3 separate regions of the Homo sapiens genome follow, and regions 2 and 3 are each linked to region 1. The links are contacts of gene promoters, found by promoter capture Hi-C in blood cells and fetal thymus (Javierre and others, 2016). All regions are on one chromosome and are shown on one strand. The core of a region is centred on a gene start or on the middle of the fragment in contact, and the rest is flanking DNA. Distances in the headings are between cores, read along the strand shown. Region 1 holds the start of OSBP (oxysterol binding protein). Region 2 overlaps LPXN (leupaxin). Region 3 overlaps ZFP91 (ZFP91 zinc finger protein, atypical E3 ubiquitin ligase).

The links. Contacts are between HindIII fragments. The CHiCAGO score rates a contact against its expected background, and 5 or more counts as called.
Region 2: a fragment that was not itself captured here is called in contact with the fragment with the promoter of OSBP in region 1 in 1 of 17 cell types (neutrophils); the score reaches 5.8 in neutrophils.
Region 3: a contact is called between a fragment that was not itself captured here and the fragment with the promoter of OSBP in region 1, in 1 of 17 cell types (naive CD8 T cells). The highest score is 5.3, in naive CD8 T cells.

What each region holds. Positions count from the first base shown.
Region 1 is chr11:59,613,726-59,618,435 of GRCh38, reverse strand. It overlaps OSBP (oxysterol binding protein), which reads left to right and starts at 2,662. Exons shown (of 14, transcript NM_002556.3): 1 at 2,662-3,133. The coding sequence starts at 2,772. LOC101927226 (a long non-coding RNA gene) reads right to left here and starts at 2,482. Exons shown (of 3, transcript XR_001748237.2): 1 at 2,261-2,482. RefSeq lists an enhancer at 2,200-2,289 and silencers at 2,490-2,789, 2,810-3,029. The HindIII fragment of the contact is 16,614 bases long and covers 1-4,710 here.
Region 2 is chr11:58,563,701-58,568,410 of GRCh38, reverse strand. It overlaps LPXN (leupaxin), which reads left to right. Exons shown (of 9, transcript NM_004811.3): 3 at 4,210-4,256. Among named protein-coding and RNA genes, the nearest start is that of LPXN, 9.8 kb to the left of the region's middle. The HindIII fragment of the contact is 2,012 bases long and covers 1,673-3,684 here.
Region 3 is chr11:58,596,721-58,601,430 of GRCh38, reverse strand. The region is part of intron 2 of ZFP91 (ZFP91 zinc finger protein, atypical E3 ubiquitin ligase); the gene reads right to left. All of the region lies in intron 2 of ZFP91-CNTF (ZFP91-CNTF readthrough (NMD candidate)), which reads right to left. Among named protein-coding and RNA genes, the nearest start is that of ZFP91-CNTF, 20 kb to the right of the region's middle. The HindIII fragment of the contact is 1,645 bases long and covers 1,345-2,989 here.

The sequences.
Region 1 (4,710 bases), core at 1,413-3,912:
AAGAGAGTTACGGATATCATAACTCTTCACTCCTACGTTTCTCCAAGTTGTAAAGATGTTTTCCCCCATGTCCAGCATACCATTATTACAATGAACAAATGTAATAACTAACAACATCTGATACCAGTCCATTTTCAAATTTCCCCAATTGTCTCAAAAATGTCTAAAAGCCTGCTTTTTCAGAACCAGAATCCAATTAAGCATTTGATTGTATCTCTTTAAGTTTTTTTTCAAATTTAGAACAATCACCCCTGACCATTTTTATGACATTGATTTTCCTTGATCTTTATGTCTTATCTTCTATAAAATAGTTGTCTTATAGAATGCTTCACGTTCTTGATTTATCTGATTATCTCCTTGGGGTTATGGTTCAACTGGTTCCTCCAGCCCAGTAAACTGGAGTTTAGATCCAAAGCCTTGATTAGATTAACTTTCAGTATTTTGGCAAGAAAACACCATTAAGTGATGCTGTATACTTTATGCTGCAGCACACTGGGAACTTCATAAAAATGTTGGTTGTCCAAGGGTTACTGATACACATTGGATAACTGGGTTAAGGTGGGGACTGCCAGATCTCCCCATTGTAAAAGTATGTTTCTCCTTTGTGATGGCAAGTAACCTGTGAGATGTGTTTGGCAACACAACTCACATGTTTGTAGCTATCTACAGTTTATCAAACACATTCAAACGCACTTAATCACAACAGCATCCCTGTGAGGTTTTATTCCTGTTTAACATAAGTGAAAACTGAGACTTGGAGTGCTTAAATAATTTTCTCAAAGTAATAGACCCAGTAAGTAGCAAAAGCAGGACTCAAGCCTAAATGGATTAACTCTAGCTCAGTTAAAAAAAAAATTAATCCCAAATAGCCTACATCTAATAGCAGATTTTATTTTGCTCTACACATTCAGAGAAATTCACTAGTAATGAGCTATACAAATGATCCCTGATAGTAAAAATTGCAGATTTTTAAAGAGTATTCTCTCTCCAGAATTCAATAAATACTTCGCTTCTTTTGAAACGATTTTCTTAAAAAGGATACTTTAATTTATTGACACTGGGAAGCACATTGGCAAAGAAAGTCAATTTCTTTTACAGTATCTAATAGCTATTTCTATTGCCTGTTCAAACTAGCAAAATGTAACAGATGCTAGATTCCCTAAAGTACGGCGCTTTAGGTTACATTTGCAACAATAGCTTACATCTAAATGTTACATTAGTTACTGAATTTGTAATCTTCACAAATGTGTGAATAGTCAGTTGATCAAAAATAACGATTTCCTGCTACAAGAGAACGCATAGCAGAAAATGTTCCCAACACAAAGATAATGTTTGAGATGATGGATATCCCAATTACACTGATTTGATAATTATACATTGAATACATGTATCACAATATCAGATGTATCCCTGAAAATATGTACAACTATATCAGTTTAAAGATATAAAAAAAATTTTCTGTCCAAAGTTAAATATGTACAACTACGATATATCAGTTTAAAGATACAAAAAATAATAATTTTCTGTTCAAAGTTAAGCATATACATGGCACCTATGATGCTAAAACCAAGGGCCTTTAGGTCTGGAAGAGACACATAAAGTCAGGTCCTCGCGAATCTACTTCTGAAGGGGACAGAATCGGTATAGGCATATGACAGTCTAGAATCAAGACACAAGGGGTGTGGAGCGATAAAGAGCAAACAGGGAAGGGAACTAGGGGGACCATGGATCCAGGAAGGGGCTGGAAAAGCTACTTCTGGGCACCCCTGGAATCTGGGTATCCAGCTTCGAGTTAGAAGGGGGTCCTTCAAGAGAGCCTCAGGCGGGGGCTGACTGCCGAGAGTTACTCTGTCCTCCAGGTTCTTCCTAACAAGAAGCTACGAAGTTCTTATTCAGAAAAACGGAACACGACATCACACCCACGTGAAAAAAACGCTTTTAAGAGGCCAAGTCACTTTCACCTCCCACCAACTTGCCAAAGGCTGAAAGCAGGCGGACACGCCCCCAAGCGCTCTTCTCCGATTTCATTGGTTGCCCCGGCCTGCTCCTCATTAGGTCTCTCTCACTGGTCAGCAATGCCGCTTTCACAGCCAATTCTCAGAACCAATCATCTCCAACTATTGCCCCGCCTCTCCACCACGTGAGTGGCATAGGTGCCAACCAATAAAAAAAGAAAATAAGGATGTAAAGACGAGACTCCTTCCCTTTTTCCTCAACTCGTTCAGTAAATGGTAGAAAAGGTGGAGCAGCTGATACCAACCACCAATCCATGAGGGCGGAAAAGGATGATGAGAAGAGCGATGGGAGGGGGTGACGTGGCAGTGACAGGCGCATAAACTGAAATGAATGGCGGAAACAGCAGCCAATCGGCGATCAGATTGGCCGGGCATTCCGCATTCTCCCGTCCTCCCTGAGCGCTGGAAACTTCAGGAAAGCACCAATGAGCTTCCCCAAAAGTCTGATTGGCCTTTATCTGAACCAATCAAAGGTGGGTCTGGCGGACGCGTCCCACCCCAGGCTCTCACTGGGCGCTGTAGAATGACAGGCCCGAGAGAAATGCCAATATCCGCGGGGTCTTCCTCAAGTGACACTCAGCGGCACCAATCGACGTCCTTCTTCCCGGCGGCCGAGCCCTCCTCCCCGCGGCTGGCCGGGCGGGGCGGGGACGCTGCGCGGCGGTGGCTGATGCGGTAGCCGTGTGGGGCGCTCCGGGCGGCGACGGCGGCTCTCGTAGGCGGTTCCGGTCTTGTATCTCCAGGCGGCGGCGGCTCATGGCGGCGACGGAGCTGAGAGGAGTGGTGGGGCCAGGCCCGGCAGCCATTGCAGCACTTGGCGGCGGCGGCGCCGGTCCCCCAGTGGTGGGAGGAGGCGGCGGCCGCGGAGATGCGGGGCCAGGCTCCGGGGCCGCGTCAGGGACGGTGGTCGCGGCGGCGGCGGGAGGCCCGGGCCCGGGGGCCGGGGGAGTGGCGGCGGCTGGCCCGGCCCCTGCGCCGCCGACTGGGGGCTCGGGCGGCTCGGGCGCTGGGGGTTCGGGCTCGGCTCGAGAGGGCTGGCTCTTCAAATGGACCAATTATATCAAAGGCTACCAGCGGCGATGGTTCGTGCTGAGCAACGGGCTCCTGAGCTACTACAGGTAACTGCTTCCGGGGCGCTGTCGCTCACCTTGCCTCCCCCATATCTGCCAACAGTCCCAGCTCCGGCATTACCGCCAGCCGGCACCGCAGCCAGGGTTGCCCCAGGCCCCTTTTCGTCATCTGTGCGGATTGACAGCCCAGGGGTCGGAGCCCACTGTCACGAAAGTGAAAAGCCCCTGGACGTACACCTCCCCTCCCCTCGGGTTACCCACTCTTGGTGCCTTATCTTCCCTTCGCTCCCGGCCTTTCCAGTCATTAGTCGTTTGGAGAGCGTCTGTGCTTCCATTGTATTTCCACCAGCACATGGGTGCAATTATTAATTCTGCAAGCAAGGCACTGGTGTAGGTACTAAGGGAACACATGCAGCAGAACAAACCCGAGGCACTCCTCCCAAGGAACTTACAGTGGAAGTCCCAAGTTGTAGCTGTCAGTGCCCAGTCTCCAAAACTCAAGGTTATTCGTAGCTCTGGATGTACCCGTCCTTGCTCCCTTCACATTCAGACATAAGGGCATCACACACACAGGGTGGCTTCGGTATTCCGTCCCCTTTCTGCCTTATCTCTCCAAGACTTTGCATGTGCTTTGGCCTCTGGACAGCCCAGAATGGAGATGTGCACCCCAGTGCTGCTTTTATTTTTGCTTGCCCCACCTCCTCCCGTGGAAATGATTAAGTGTTTTATCTGGCATTTCTGTGATTTTTTGGTTAGTTAGGATTAACTTTTATTAAAAGAAGAATCCATGTCTTTGGTGTGATTACTTCTGTTCAACAAGGTTTATTTTGGACTGTTTAATATATATTTATGGTGACTCATAACCTGGCCATCACATGGCACGCTTTTGGGCTAAAAAGGATAGAGGAGTTAAGATAGGTGATTTGGGGACAGGGCGTAAACATTTCCTGAGGGCTGGACAATGTGTCTAGGTGTTTTATATACAGTATTTCATTATAGTATTTTGTTGACTCCCAACAACAACCCTAGGAGTTGGGAAATATTCCCATCTTACTGATGAGGAAAACAGACTTAGCATGGGCAACTTTCCCAAGGTTTTTGAGCAGCTGGGATTTGAAACTACTTCTGTTCACACTAATCTAACCTAAAACTCAGGTTAGTGTGAAATGAATCGGTCAGTTACAGAGATAATTGCTTATCAATAGCAAGTAATTTTATGGATCATGCTTACTATGTGTATTTTATGCAAAAAGTATAAAAGTCTCCTTTAAGGGATATTTTGCTTAATGACATTCCAATTGAAATATTTTTTTCCAGAGACCATCCTCTTTGAGACCCAAAACACTGATGTTGAAGAGCAGCTCACTCTATATTTCTTTTCCTTCACCAGGAATCATTCTGCTACCCAGAGAGTTAGGCTGAACAAGTCTCTTTTCCATCAACTCCACTGTATTGGCTCTTAGAGAATTTTGAGGAGAAATTGAAGGTGGGAGTTGGAGGTTGTTGGCAGGAACACATTTTTACCTGTCCTCTTACAGGGCAAAATGCCTTAGATAGCTCATCCTCACTGCTTAATCAACAGTTGTGAATAATTGTATATTTCATTTGCATTACTGTATTCAGAA
Region 2 (4,710 bases), core at 1,429-3,928, 1.1 Mb after region 1:
GGCTGGTCTTGTACTCCTGACCTCAGGTGATTTGCCTGCCTCAGCTTCCCAAAGTGCTGGGATTACAAGCACGAGCCACTGTCCCCAGCCAAATTCTGACTTAATTATGGTTAAATGCAAAAGATGGCTAATGATAACTTGTCTTTTTTCTTGATTCTGTTCAGATGAAACCTAGCTAGCAGCAACCTTTCAAGAATTATATGCAGGGTGCTGCCTGTTAAAGCTAAGAGCTCAAGCACAAGTACCTCTTCTGATCTTAGGTGGTAGCAGAAGAATTTCTGAGGCTTTTCCCCCTGCTGGCCACTTTGTGAACCACCACTCATGCCCTCATGTGGTCGTGTGGTGGGTGGCCTGTGAGATGCGTGGAACCTCCTCAGAGTCAGTAGAAAATGGGAGAAATTGTGGCTTAATGTCATACAAATTATGTTTAGGAAATAGAGGCTAAGTAATTTTGCCATAGAGTATAGTGTAACCTAATTGTTTTATTAAAGCAGTTTTGTTATTATTTGTATATGTGAAGCTCTATTTGTTTTATTATATGGTAATGCCTTTTGAATTTTACAATAAACCCTTTCAGCAGTTAGCTCAAAACAAAACCCACATGTTTAATTGTCTCAAGAAAGCTGATAATGAATATGCAACGTGCAGAAAATATTTTTCAATATTTACCATGTACCATGCAGGCAAGTAGAAAGATCACTATCCCTTTGAAAACCAGAAGGTACAAATATGGTGAAGCAGCTTTGGCATCTATTTCCAAAGTTAATAATTTAAGAAGAATATGCCTTAAAATGACTTCAACACGGCAGCTGCAGGAGGCCTATGTACATGTCATTGTGAAGCACACCTTCCCATTAGTATCAAATAACTCATAAATTAATTTTGCTCATTTTCAATTCCAAGTTTTCTTGTACTTGTAAGTAAACTGGTAATAATTAATGAGTGATTTTCCTTTGCAAACCTTCAAATAATGTTTTTTATAATAATTTCCTTAGAGGTCTCAATTCAAAAATGTATTAATTCTGAAATGTTTCAATTTTGTTTTTTATCTAATTCAAACAATCAAAATAAAATATGTGAAAATTTATTTCCTAGTCAAAAAGTGAAACATCTGACATTGTTAATGCCACTGTAAATTTAGTTGAAAAGCTCAACATTGAAGGTAAACTGTTGTTTTTGTTGTAAGAATATGAATACAAATGTTAATAGAGCACAGCATTGTGTTAAAAATGTTCTTACCAAGTTAACAAGCTATGAAGCAGAAATGTACTTGGAATTGGTTGTAATGTGCACAAAATTTGTGACTGCATTCAAACAAGCTGCGGTATTCTGTCAGTCAAAACAGAAACTAAAATTGTCAAAATGTATAAATTATAAATATATATATACACACACACACACACACACACAGATTTTATAAGTAACTGATCTACAAAACTTTTCTGACAGAAGCTGATATTGAACACTACCATGCAAGGAAACATTTCAGAATGACTATATGTATATTCCTGTCTGTGTTGCATGTCATCAATTGGATTTTGGGAATGCCTGAGCCTTTGAAAAACCACTTTGTAAAGCAACCCAAATTTAGATTGCATTATGTTCAAGACCAGTTGGAAATTTTTAATCGATTACTGAATGAATGTAGCATGAAAATTCAGCTTTTGAAGCTTTTAGCAAGTTACAATTATGTAAAATAAGGCTTGCAAAGGAAGAAGCTCAAATTTCTCCCTACAAAAGCGAAGAAGGAGTTGAACAAATCAAAAGATGAAAGCAGATATGGTTTAATTATCTATTTTGACAATTGTGCTTCAGAAAAATCTTGACTTTGATGTATTTTGACTTCTAATTTTATTTGGATAAATTTTTATTCTCTACCAAAATGGAGAAAAATTGTGAAAGTCTATGATTTTGCAGTATCTAGATTTGGTGAAATGTTGAAACAATCACAGATATAGACAACTTGAAAGTTTTATCTTGTAAGAAATTATTGAGCAAAAGTGCTTTGAATGAAGGTAGAAAGACAGCACCTATGACGATATTGGCCTGAAATATTTACATATTTTAATCTAAAAAATGAGAAGATTCTTCATTTAGCAGAACTTACAGGTTCATCAGTATCTAGAGAGGAAATGTGTTCTCAGTTAAAAACATATAGTGAAGCATCAATTAAAGTTGTCCATAATTTCAAATATATTAACCATAAAATGAAGTTTTGAAAAAGATTGCAGTTTTATAAAAAAATAACTGTTTAAATAAAAAACGAAAAAAAACACATGTTCCTGAAAAATGTCCACATCCCAATGCTAGAGACAATAATATCTAAATAACCAATTAAGGTATGTGAATACATATAAAGAATAATTGTCTGTACCATTAAAAATGTTCAGATAATCAATTTTTTGTTGTTGTTGAGACAGAGTGTCACTCTGTTGCCCAGGCTGGAGTTCAGTGGCATGATCTTGGCTCGCTGCAACCTCCGCCTCCTGGGTTCAAGCAATTCTCCTGTCTCAGCCTCCCGAGTAGCTGGGACTACAGGCACCCACCACCATACCTGGCAAATTTTTTTGTATTTTTAGTAGAGACAGGGTTTCACCATGTCTGGTCACATGACACCAGGCTGGTCTCAAATTCTCCTGACCTCAAATGATGCACGTGCCTCAGCCTCCCAAAGTGCTGGGATGATAGGCGTTAGCCACTGTGCCTGGCCAATATTTTTTTAAAGTTGCTTGAATGTTCATAACTTTGTATCACTATCACTTTAAGATATTTCAGGAAATTTTTATTTTGAAAATAAATTTTGGATAGAATTATCTTATAGGTCCACCAATATAATAAGACCAAATTCAGGTCAATAAACACATTTTTTTTTTTTTTGAGACCGAGTCTCGCTCTGTCACCCAGGCTGGAGTGCAGTGGCATGATCTCAGCTCACTGCAATCTCTGCCTCCCGGGTTCAAGCAATTCTCCAAGCCTCAGCCTCCTGAGTAGCTGGGATTACAGGCACGCAACACCACTCCCAGCTAAATTTTTATAGTTTTAGTAGAGATGGGGTTTCACCATGTTAGCCGTGATGATCTCGATCTCCTGACCTCGTGATCCGCCTGCCTCAGCCACCCAAAGTACTGGGATTACGGGCGTGAGCCACCACGCCCGTCCAATAAACACATATTTTAAAAATGATACAAGCTCGTGACCCGTCTGCCTCGGCTGCCCAAAGTACTGGGATTACGGGCATGAGCCACCATGCCTGGCCAATAAACACATATTTTAAAAATGATACAATATGACTTATTTTTGGAACCCATTTTCTTTCTAAAAAATACCCCATTCTGAACGTTTGGTGATGTGGCCACCTCATCTGTATGATCTGGCCCCTTTACTTGCTGTCCCTGTGTCCTTGGTTCACTCTGCTCAGGCCACACTCTCCTTCTCGTGGTTCCACAGATGCTCCAGGTGGTTTTCCTGCTGGCCTTTCCACCTGAATCATATGACCCCAGATATTTGCTTTCTTTCCCCACCTCCTATATAAGTCCTTGCTCAAGCGTTCTCTTCTCAGTGAGTCCTTCCCTGATCAGTATATTTATAATTGCTGTCTCTCCCCACTTCCCATCCTCTATGCAGAATATTACTTTTACATACCAATTTCTTTATTATTTGTTTCACAGCACCAGAATGTAAGCTTCAGGGCTTACAGTTTTTATTTGATTTTTTTGCTTTTTGACTGCTACATCCTCAGCCCTGGCACATGACAGGCCCTCAATACATATTTGTTCAATTAATAAATGAATTGCCAGCCAACCATCTTTTAGATTCACATGTTATTTCTTTTCATATGTCAAGTTTAATAACATTATAGTCTCCTCCTAGGCACCATCCTGTTTAGTTAAAGGGGCTTAGCTCTGACCCATTTTATTTGATTTATGGTTCTTATCTAAGGAGGATCAACTTCTCTATTTGGGTGGTTTTTAGGCAAGGAGGGGCTGCTAGTGTTTGTTCACATGCCAACTACTCTGTTTAGAATTTGGCTTTTCTTTGTGGGATGGCTGGTAATTCCTCTGGCTTGTGAAAGAAGAGCTCATAGATATGCCACTTGTCAGTCCCCTTTAAAAGCTACAAACATCTATTAACTGTGGGTATCATTAAGCCTCAACATTCTGATAACAAAAATTTATTCTTTGCTCTTCTCTTGTCACTTATATATCTTAGGCGCAGCTCGTGTATACTACCAATATCCAGGAGCTCAATGTCTACAGGTATTTTTTTTTCTATTAAATGCTTTTAAAAATTAAAGTTAGTAGATAATTGTTATCAATCTTTGTTTGGGTGATAATTTGCTTTGCAAGTGTTTATTATTAGAACTCGTATATCATCCTCCTCTTTCCATAGTCTTTGAGCATAGGTAGAATTCTGTGAAGCTGACTTGACAACTTCTCAAGGTGCCTGGCTTCTGGAAGGGTTGTCTAGGCTAGTGGGCCCTGCTATGTCCATTACCACCTAAAGAAGTGTAAATACTCCCAGAGTTACCACAGATGTTTTGTCCACGCTATTCCAGATGTTATGCTTCAGTTTCCTGAAAGATAAAACACACCTGAAGAAACTTCAGCAAGATTCTAGCAATGTCAGAGCTAGGATGAGGGTTAAACTAAGACAGTGGGTCTCCATGGCCAACTGATGAGTATTTACTTTTTCTTTCCATATTTGCTCAAA
Region 3 (4,710 bases), core at 918-3,417, 1.0 Mb after region 1:
GGACACTACCACTGAAATAAACATAAGAAAACACAATGAACAACTGTTTGCCAACAAATAACATAGATGAAATCAACAACTTCTTAGGCACACACAAATTACCAAAAACAATTCAACAAGAAATGGAAAAGATGAACATATCTTTAACAAGTAGACAACTGAGTCAGTAAACAAAAAGCTCCCAATAAAAAGGCCAGAAGCCTCTAGATGGTTTCATTGGTTGATTCTACCACACATTTAAAGAATTAACTCCAGTCTTCCTCAAACTCTCTTAAAAAATAGAAGATGGAACACTTCCCAACACATCCTATAAACACAGCATTATTCTGACACCAAAGCCAGACAAAGACACCACAAAAAACCATAAGCCAATATCCCTTGCAAACCAAATATAGCATCATATTAAGAAGATTAAACACTATAATCAATTGAGACAGGTCCCAGGATTATGAGGGTGGTTCGATATACAAAAACATATGTAATATCCCACATTAATAAAGAGAGGAAAAAACACACCATTATCTCAATTGATGTAGAAAAAAGAAAAAGAACCTGACAAAATTAAACTTTCATGATAAGAACACACAAAAAACTGGGAATAGAATTGAACTTCCTCAACTTGACAAAGAACACCTTTAAAAACCCCAGAGCTCACATCATACGCAGTGGTAAAAGACAAAGCTCTCCTGCTAAGGTCAGGAACAAGACAAGGATGCCCTCATTCTTCACTTCCATTCAACACTGTACTGGAAGTTCTAGCCAAGTAATTACTCAAGTAAAAAAAGAGGCACCCAAAGTGAAAAGGAAGAAGTAAAACTGTATCTCTATTTGCAGGTGAAAAGACCTTACATATAGAAAATTCTAAAGAATTTTCACAAAAGAAAACTGTTAAAGGTCATATACAAATTCGAAGGGCCAGAATATAATACCAACACGTAACATTCATTGTTTTAAGCATATTAGCAATGAACAAAAAGGAAATTAAGAAAATAATTATTACCTTTATTCAAAGTGCCAGAATATATGACCAACATATAACATTCATTGTTTTAAGTATATTAGCAATGAACAAAAAGGAAATTAAGAAAATGATTACCTTTACAATAGAATAAAAAGGAATAAAATATTGAAAAATTGTTAAGATGACAATACTCTGAAAATAAACCCACAGATTAACTGTAATTCTTATCAAAACCCCAGCTTCCTTTTTGGTAGAAATTGACAACCCAATCCTAAAGTTCACAGGAAAATGCAAGGGATCTACACTAGTCACAGCCATCTTGAAAACAAACAGAATTAAAGACGCACTTTTTTCTTCTCAATTTCAACACTTACTATAAAGCTTCAGTAATCAATACAATGTATTACCGGCATAAAACTAATAATAATTGAATCAACTAACTGAATTAAAGGTCCAGATATAAATCTATACATCTGTGGTCAACTGATTTTTAAGAAGGTGGCTAAGACCATTCAGTAGGTGAAAACAGTCTCTTCAAGAAATGGTGCTAAGACAAATGGATATCCACATGCAAAAAATGACGTTGTATTCCTACCTTATACCATATATAAAAATTAACTCAAAATGGATCAAAGACCTAAACACAGGAGCTAGCACTAAAAAATGCATAGAAGTGAAGATAACCCTACAGAATGGGAGAATATATTTGCAAGTCATATATCTGGTAAAAGTCTAATATCCAAAATATATAAAGTCTTTGGATTTAACAACAAAAAGAGAAACAACCCAATTAAAACATGGGCAAAGAACCTAAACAGATTATTTCTCCAGAGATATACAAAAGGCCAAAAAAGTACTTGAAAAGATACGGAACATCAGTCATTAACGAAATGCAAATCAAAATCACATGAGATTACCATTTCCCACATACTACAATGGCTAACTAAAAATAATAAAAAAAGAAAATAAGAAGTGTTGGTGAGAATGCAGAGAAATTGGAACCATTGTTTATTGCTGGTGGACATGTAAAATGAGGCAGCTAATGAGGAAAACAGTGTTATGGAAAACCTAAGAAAACAGTGTTAAGAAAAATGTTAAGAAAAACTTAGACACAGAATTACCATATGATCCAGCAATTCCACTTCTAGGTACATACACCAAAAATTGAAAACAGCTATTCAAAGAAATACTTATTACATATGAATATTCATAGAAGCACAATTCTCAATACCCAAATTGTGGAAACAACCCAAATATCCATTAACCAGTGAATGGATAAACAAAATGTCATATATACATACAACGAAAATTTTTATCCAGCCATAAAAAGGAATGCAATCTTAACATGTTACAATGTGAACCTTAAAAATATGCTATATGATAGATGCTAGAAACAAAAGTCACATATTGCACATATTGTATGATTCCAATTACATATAATATCCAGAATAGGTAAATCCATAGAGACAAAGCAGATTAATGTTTGTTGCAGCTGAACAGGAGGGAAGGGGGAATAACTGCTTTTAATGGGTACAGGGGTCTCCTTTGTTGGTGGTGATGAAAATGTTTGGAACTAGATAGAAGTGATGGTTGTACAACACTGTAAATGTACCAAATGTCACTGAATTGTATGCTTTCAAGTATTTTTTACTATTTTTTTGTTATGTGAATTTCACCTCAAAACACACACACACACACACACACACACACACACACACACGTGCACAAAAGTATTGCCAGGTTTCTGGAATAGAAATTGACAACTGAAGGACAATCCATACATTAGCATAAACAATCATAAACAGATAGGAAACAAGCCAAGTTTCTTCTGTGTGGTACTTCAAAGACAATTTCCAGTTGTTTCTTATAATAGCAGCTAACCTTGAGGAGGTTCCTTGATACATAAATAATAAGAGAAAAAAGCCATACTAGCTTGGGTAAAGGAAGACATCATACTAGTCACTGCATGAGCAACATGCAGGCACAGTGAATATAACTACAGTTAGTTAACCCTTGAACAACAAAGCTTTGAACTGCATGGATCCATTCATACGCCAGTTTTTTAAAATATGTAAGAAAATTTTTTGGAGATTTGTGACAATTTGAAAAAACTTGCAGACAAACTGTGTAGCCTAGAAATATTGAAAAATTAAGTTATGTCATGAATGCATAAACTATAGATACCACTCTATTTGATGACATTACTGTAAAATATACACAAATATAAAAAGTTAAAATTCAACAAAACTTACACACACAAAGTCTTAGACTATATATGGTATCATCCAAAGTCCAGAGAAATGTAAAGAAACGTAAAGATGTACTAATGAATAACTGCATAAAATTAACTCCGTACATAATAATTTCATAGCTATCTCCTGTTGCTATTGCAGCAAGCTCAGCTGTTTCAAGTATCTGCTTAAAATGTCATGAGGATAATCATCACCACCTGAGTGAATTTACTGTCACAGTAGAAGTGGTATCTCTCAGTTAACTCATTTTTCACTATGTTTAGAGCAATACCTGAAACCTTGACTAACACTACGGGACCCATAAGAGTTGCCACTAGTGATACTGGAAGTGCTTCCAAGAAGCAGAGAAAAGTCACGGTATTACAAGAAAAAGTTGAATTGCTTAATAAGCATAGAAGGTTGAGGTGTGTAGCTGCAGTTGCTCACCATTTTAAGATAAATGAATCCAACATAAAAAGTATTGAAGAAAAGGAAATTTGTGAAGCCACTGCTGCACCTACAGTAGCAGGTGCAAAAATCTTGCAGTTTTTGCAAAATACTTTTATCTCACATTCAAGATGCAGCTTTTATGTGGGTACAGAATTGCTATAAGAAAGGCATACCTACAGACTCTAAGTAAACTCATTATATGACAACTTAAAGCAAAAGAAAGGTGAAGAAAGAATTTAATGTCAGCAAAGAATGGTTTGATAATTTCAGAAAGAGATTTGGCTTTAAAAATGTCAAGATAATAGGAGAAACAGCTTCTACTGACCAAGAGGCAGCAGACAAGTTCCCAGGCACTGTTAAGAAAACAGCTGAGGAAGGATATCTGCCTAAGTTTTTAATGCAACTACCCCAGTCCAGAAAAAAATGCCACAAGAGACATTTATTATATTAGTAAGGTGGGGAAGTAAGCAACAAGATTTAAAGCAGGAAAGGATAGGCTAACTCCACTGTTTTGTGTAAAAGCAGTTAGGTTTATGATCAGGGCTGCCCTTATCTATAAAGCTACTAACTCCTGAGCCTCGAAGAGAAAAACTAACAATCTTTTGGTGGTACAACAAAAAGGTCAGGAAAACAAGAACTAATTTTCTAGACTGGTTCCATTGATGCTTTGCCCCTGAAGTAAAAAAGTACCTTGCCAGTTAGGGACTGCCTTTTATGGTTCTTTTGATATTGGACAATGCCCCTGGTTACCTCATGAATTTAACATCAAAGGTGTTGAAGTGGTCTACTTGCCCCCCAAACACAATGTCTCTAATTCACCTTCCCAATCAGCGGGTCATAAGAATCTTTAAGTCTCATTACACGATATTCTATGGAAAAGGACTGTTAACTCCATGTAAGAAAATCCCAATAGAGAGAACATCATGAAAGTCAGGAAGGATTACACCACTGAAGATGCCATCGTTATAGAAAATTCCTGCTGGAGAAAATTGTGTCCAGATGTTGTGCATGACTTCACAGGATTTATGGCAGAGCCAATCAAGGAAATCATGAAAGAGATTGTGAATA